2 separate regions of the Homo sapiens genome follow, and region 2 is linked to region 1. Evidence: promoter capture Hi-C in 16 types of primary human blood cells and fetal thymus (Javierre and others, 2016). All regions are on one chromosome and are shown on one strand. The core of a region is centred on a gene start or on the middle of the fragment in contact, and the rest is flanking DNA. Distances in the headings are between cores, read along the strand shown.

Evidence for each region. Contacts are between HindIII fragments. The CHiCAGO score rates a contact against its expected background, and 5 or more counts as called.
Region 2: a fragment that was not itself captured here is called in contact with the fragment with the promoter of RFPL2 in region 1 in 1 of 17 cell types (endothelial precursors); the score reaches 5.6 in endothelial precursors.

Annotation. Positions count from the first base shown.
Region 1 is chr22:32,203,285-32,206,550 of GRCh38, reverse strand. RFPL2 (ret finger protein like 2) reads left to right here and starts at 1,478. Exons shown (of 5, transcript NM_001394555.1): 1 at 1,478-1,844. SLC5A4-AS1 (SLC5A4 antisense RNA 1) reads right to left here and starts at 1,436. Exons shown (of 4, transcript NR_149072.1): 1 at 1,304-1,436. RefSeq lists an enhancer at 1-34. The HindIII fragment of the contact is 11,730 bases long and covers 1-3,266 here.
Region 2 is chr22:32,388,920-32,392,185 of GRCh38, reverse strand. The region is part of intron 11 of RTCB (RNA 2',3'-cyclic phosphate and 5'-OH ligase); the gene reads left to right. Among named protein-coding and RNA genes, the nearest start is that of RFPL3S, 19 kb to the right of the region's middle. The HindIII fragment of the contact is 3,235 bases long and covers 207-3,266 here.

The sequences.
Region 1 (3,266 bases), core at 229-2,728:
GATAGCGCCCCCGACCCTCCCCCACAGCTGGCAGTGTAGCACCAGATGGCAACCCCAACCCGCCCCTGCCTCGGACACTGCAGCACCAATGGCACCCGCAACCCACCCCCTGCCTTGGGCAGCGCAGCCCGGGATAGCGCCCCCAACCCGCTCCCTGCCGTAGGCAGTGGCTGTAGACAGTGTAGCCATGGGTAGCGACCCCAACCAGACCCCTGCCGTGGGCAGTGATGCCCCGATATGGCACCCAAATCGCCCCCTACCCCGGGCAGTGCAACCCTGGATAGTGCCCCTACCTGCTCCCCACCAGGAGAAGCAGCCCAGGATAGCACCCTCAACCCACTTCCTGCCTCCAGGCAGTGCAGCCACAGATAGCACCCAAACTTACTCCCCACCTCGGGCAGTGCGGCCACAGACAGCTCACCTAAACCACCCCCTGCCAAGGGCAGTGTAGCCCCCTATAGTGCACCCAACCTGCCCCTGCTGCAGCCAGTGCAGCCCCAGATAGCACACCCACCCGCTCCCTGCTAGGCAGTACAGACCCCTGATAGCACCCAACCCACCCCTCCACCGCAGGCAGTGTACCCGGCCCTCAATAGCGCCCCCAACCAACGCCCCCACCCCCTCTCCATGGGCAGTCCAGCCCCGGTACCAATCCCAACAACCCCCCGCTACCTGTCTCAGTGTAGCCCCCAGAGAGCGCCCTCAACAACCCCCTCCCCACTGCCAGCAGTGTAGCACCCTATAGTGACCCTAACCCGTCCCCCACCACCAGCATTGCAGCCCCAAATAGTGCCCCCAACCCGCTCCCCACTGTGGGCAGTGCAGCCATGGATAGTGTCCCCAACCAGCTCCCAGATGCAGGCAATGATGCCCTGGATATCACGCCCGCCCCCGTCCCCCACAGGCAGAGTAGCACCGGATAGCAGCACCCACCCTCGCCACCAGCAGTGTTGCACCCACCAGCCCCCCACAACCTGTCCCCAACAAGGGCATCAGGGCATTGCAGCACCTGATAGTTCTACTAACTCACCCCCGCCCCCCGGCCGCGGGCAGTGCATCCCCAGATAGTGCCCCCAAAACTCCCCACTGCCGCAGGAATTACAGCTTCGGATAGCGCCCCAACCCATCTCCAGCCATAGGCTGGATAGCGCCCCCGGATAGCGCCCCCACCCCACTCCCCTCAGCGGGCAGTGACGCCCGAGGTACCACACTCAAGCAGCCCCCCAACACGGGCAGTGACGCCCTGGATAGGGCCCCCAACCCGCCCCCCACGCCACAGGCAGTACGGCCTGGGATAACGAACCTATTCTGCCACCTTTTCACCATTCTGGCTGCGCTGTAGTCACCCTCGCGGCCACCAACCGCAGCAGCGAGGTGAGCCACTGTAGGCTCCAGCCTCCAGCATGCGCGGTAGATGACTCTAGCCTCTGGCATGCGCGGCAAGTGGCTCCTCCTCCTTCTCCTCTAAGCCGGGCACAGAGCAGCTACGCAGGCCGACGCAGATGAGCCTGGAAGGGCAAGCCACCCCTCTTGGCATCCTTTATATACTGAGTTTAATGCAAATGAAGTTTCTCGACTACATAGTCTGATCGGATGAGAGAAACCTCTAGGCCTACTCTGATCGGGCTTTGTTATCTTGTTCTGATTGGTTATCCTAAGACTTGCTGTCATCCAGTCAGAACGTGAAAATAAAGCACAATCAGAGTAGACCTAGAGGTTTTTCTCTCATCCAATCTGAACATGTAGTCCAGAAACCTTACTTGCATAACCTCGGTCTGTGGGGGGAGGGGTTCTTGCCATTCCAGGCACTTCTGCGTCTGCCAGCCCATCTGCTCCATGCCCAGGTTAGAGGAGGAGTCACCTGTCCCACGCTGGAGGCTTGAAAGCCTGCAGCAGCATGGCTCGGCTCGCTGCCGTTGGTGGCGGTGAGGGAGACTAGACCGCAGCCAGAATGTAGAAAGGTGGCGGGGTGGATGAGCTATCCAGGGCTCACTGCCTGCGGCAGGGGGCGGGGAGGGGGACAGGTTGGATGCACGATCTGGAGCTGCACTGCCCGAGGTGGGAGCGGGGGCGGATTGAGGGCGCCATCGTGGGCTACAACCCGGTGGTGGGAGGCGTGTTAGGGGCAGTATTGGGTGCTGCACTGCCTACAGCACGGGAAGGTTGGGTGCTTTACCGGACGTCATTTCCCGCAGCCGCGGGGTGGCTTGCTGGGGGCGCTATCCGTGGCTGCACTGGTCGCGCTGGGGTACGGGTTGGGGGCGCTATCTGGGACATCAGTGCGCATGGCAGGGAACTTGTTGGCTGTGATATCCGAGGCGTCACTGCCCTTGGCTGGGGGCTGGTTGGGGGCTCTATCTATGGGCTACACTGCCTACAGCCAGGAGCGTGTTGGGGCGTTATCGGGGCGGACTGCCAGTGGCGGGGGTGGGGGTGCGGGTTGGGTGCTATCGGGGGGCTTCACTGCCTGGCAGGGAGTGGATTGGGTGCGCTATTTGGGGTTGGACTGCCGGCGGTGGTTGACTCGGTGGGAGGAGAGGGGCAGAGGGAATGGGTTGGATGCACTATCGGGAGCTACACTGCCCGAGGCGAGGGGGAGATGGGGGCGCCATCGTTGGCTACACCGCATGTAGTGGGGGGCGTGTAAGGAGCAGTAGTGCGTGTTGCATTGCTCATGGCGGGGGAGGGTTGGGTGCGTTATCCCGGGCGTCATTTCCCACAGCGGCGGGGGTCAGTGGAGGGGCTTGTTGAGGGCGCTATCCATGGCTGCACTGGTCGCTGAGGGGCAAGGATTGGGGGCGCTACCTGGGACATCAGTGCCATGGTGGGGAACTTGTTGGGTGTGTTATCCGAGGCATCACTCCCCATGGCTGGGGGCTGGTTGGGGGCGCTACCCATGGGCTGCACTGCCCACAGCCAGGAGCGTGTATGGGACATTATCGGGGGCGGACTGCCAGTGGCTGGGTGGGGAGGCGGGTTGGATGCTATGTGGGGTTGCACTGCCCAGCAGGGAGTGAGTTCGGTGCGCTATCTGGGGTTGCACTGCCGGCGGTGGGTGGCAGATTGGGTGCCCTATCGCTACACTGCCGCGGCGAGTACCGGGTTGGCGGCGCTATCCTGGGCTACACCGCCGGTGGCGGGAGGCGTTTTAGGGGCGCTATCTGGTGCTGCACTGCCCGCGCAGGAGTTGGGTTGGGTGACCTACTCCAGGCGTCACTGCCCGAGGCTGGGGGCTGATTTGGGGCGCTATCCCGGGAGTCATTTCC
Region 2 (3,266 bases), core at 575-3,074, 190 kb before region 1:
GTTCCAGTCTACAGAGACAGCAATTTAGGGTGTTACTAACAGAAATTGTTTGGGTTATTTTTTTTTATGACCTCAATTTTGGCTTATCTTCCTTGGATTAGCTTATTTCAGTTTTATGTTTTCATTTCTTTTGGTTAAAATTACGAGCCAAGTCCTTAAGAATGATTTTTACTGTTCATTTATAGTCTCCATCTACATATTAAGCTTTTCAAGAGTAGTTTGAGCTGACTCTTGTTTTTGCACAATTGTATACTTAGGTTTCAATTTGAAAGCAAATTTGAAAAAGGAAGGCATAAATGTTTGGAGAAAGTTTTATTTGATTCACAGGAGAACAGATTTTGTTTAAATTCTGTATATATGTTTACATATATGTACATATTTAAATTAAAAGCAATATAATTCCTTAATGATTTAAGAGAAAAGAAAAACAGTCATCCAAAAACTCAATGCCCTGACACAGTTATTACCTTATCTTTTAGAATACTTATTATTGTCGGCCGGGCGTGGTGGCTCACGCCTGTAATCACAGCATTTTGGGAGGCCGAGGTGGGCAGATCACATGAGGTCAGGAGTTTGAGACCAGCCTGATCAACATGGTGAAACCCCTACTAAAAATACAAAAATTAGCTGGGCATGGTGGTGGACACCCATAATCGCAGCTACTCAGGAGGCCGAGACAGGAAAATCACTTGAATCCGGGAGGCAGAGGTTGCAGTGAGCCAAGATCATGCCACTGCACTCCAGCCTAGATGACAAAGTAAGACTCCGTCTCAAAAAAAAAAAAAAAAAATTTACTTATTGTCATAGTTTTTTCCTAAATGCTTTTTTTAAAGCTAGTCTTAATTATAGTTAAGAAACATTCTGTAGTTATTTTTAAAATTTTGCACATTATTATAAAATTGTTTGTGTCACTTTTTAAAATCATTGCTGAATATTCCACCAGCTGAGTACCTTACTTTCTGCCTGTAGTGGACATTTAAGTAGCTTCCAAATTTTTGCTACTATAAATTAAATTGTAATGAGTGTCTTCATGCATGAAGGTTTTTTCCAGTTGTTATAGTAATTAGAACAAAGTCTCAAAAGTGGAGTTACATGGTGGCTCATGCCTATAATCCCAGTACTTTGGGAGGCCAATGCAGGAAGATCTCTTGAGGCCAGGAGTTCAAGATTAGTTTGGCCAAAGATTAGCCAGGTGTAGTCCTAGCAACTCAGGAGACTGAAGCTGGAGGATTGCTTGAGCCCAGGACCTTGAGGTTACAGTAAGCTATGTGATTGTCCAGACTTGGTGCAAAGCAAGACCCTATCTCTAAAAAAAAATAAGGAAAAAAAGTGGAATTACTGAGTCAGAGTATGACAAAGACTTATTTTTTTTAATAACAATTCATTTTTCCCCTGATCTTAAGAATACATGGTTAATTTAAAAGATTTGGAATATACTGGCCAGGTGCAGTGGCTCAGGCCTGTAATCCCAGCATTTTGGGAGGCTGAGGCGGGTGGATCACAAGGTGAGGAGATCAAGACCATCCTGGCTAACACGGTGAAACCCCATCTCTACTAAAAATACAAAAAATTAGCCGGGCGTGGTGGCGGGCGCCTGTAGCTCTAGCTACTCGGGAGGCTGAGGCAGGAGAACGGCGTGAACGCGGGAGGCGGAGCTTGCAGTGAGCCGAGATCGCGCTACTGCACTCCAGCCTGGGCGACAGAGCAACACTCCATCTCAAAAAAAAAAAAAGGATTTGGAAAATACAAAGGAGAAAACAGAAAACATTTAGAATTCAATCAGCCAGAAATAATTACAGTTAAAATTTGGATTTTTGGTTTTTTGGTTTTGTTTTGTTTTTTCACCTGCAACACGTGATTATTTGATTCACTTACTCAGCTAACACGTACTAACCATCCGCTATAGTTAGGTACTGTTCTATATGCTAGAGATACTGCAGTGAACAAAAGAAACACGAGTCCCTTCGTTGTGGAGCTTTCCAAATAATAAAACATACAGTGTGTTAATGACCATGCAAGTTCTATGAAATAAAAAGCAGGGAAAGGTGGTAAGGAAAGGTGGGAAGGGGTACAGTTTTAAGCAGGTGGTCGGAGAAGACTTCAGTGAGGTGACAGTAGAGCAAAGACCTGAAGAGAGAGAGGAAACAGGCTACCTGGGCATCTGGAGGTGAGCTTTCGAGGCAGAGAGAACAGCAAGCGCAAAATCTGTGAGCTGAGGTTATGAAGGAGTGTTCAAGAAACAGCAAGGAGGCCAGGCATGACAAGAGCAAGCCAGAGGGAGATGAGGTCAGAGAGGTAGGGGGCGCCAGAGCATTTGGACTTTTGCTTTTACTCTGATTAAAATGAAAAAACCTTGGAGGATTTTGAGCAGAATAGTGACGTGATCTGACAAATGTGTTTGCATGTTGATGAGAAGAATCTACAAGAGAAATTAATGATGCAGAAAAGAGGGAGGAAATTGCTGGAGAAGTGTCCTTGAATAGATGAGAGGAGATAGAGTCTGATGTACAAGTGGATGGGGTTGGTCTTTGCTAGGAGCACAGATAATTCATCCTTTATAAAAGGAGAGAAGAAGCTGAGCACAGTGGCTCACACCTGTAATCCCAGCACTTTCGGGAGGCTGAGGTGAGAGTATCGCTTAAAGCCAGGAGTTTGAGACCAGCCTGAGCTACAAAGCAAGACCCCATCTCTACAAAAATAAAAAAAATTAGGCACAGTGGCACATGCCTGTAGTCTCAGTGAGCTATGATTGTGCCACTGGACTCAACCTTGGGTGACAGAGTAAAAAAATAAAAGGAGAGAAGGTATAGATACAGATATGTGGGGAAGATAAAGTTAGCATGTTTATGAATATTCTGGCTGCTTCTATTTTTTTCAGTGTATTACATAGTAAGGTCAGCAAGTGAGAGTGGGATCTGAGAAAAGGTATGAAATATTCATCTAGGGGAGAGACAGTCATTGGCCCAGTGGAATTTCATCTGATTGCCAGGAGCTAGAAATCGCCAAGTAGTACTGGGGAGTGATTCAGGCTCCCACAGATAACTACAGCCAAAGGTAGTTTGTGGTACGATGTAATGACTGCAAGATTCAAAACTAGGAGTGCCTAGGGAGAACGGGAGAATAGAAACAACCATGAAAGCCAGGAGCACACCTGTCCCACTTCTGGGACCAATGGCATGACCTGATTTGGGGAAAACAGCAGTCACCATTCAGAAAGTTGGAGATGAAAGTGGTATCCTCGGGAAAGATCCGTGTTTCAGTAAAAC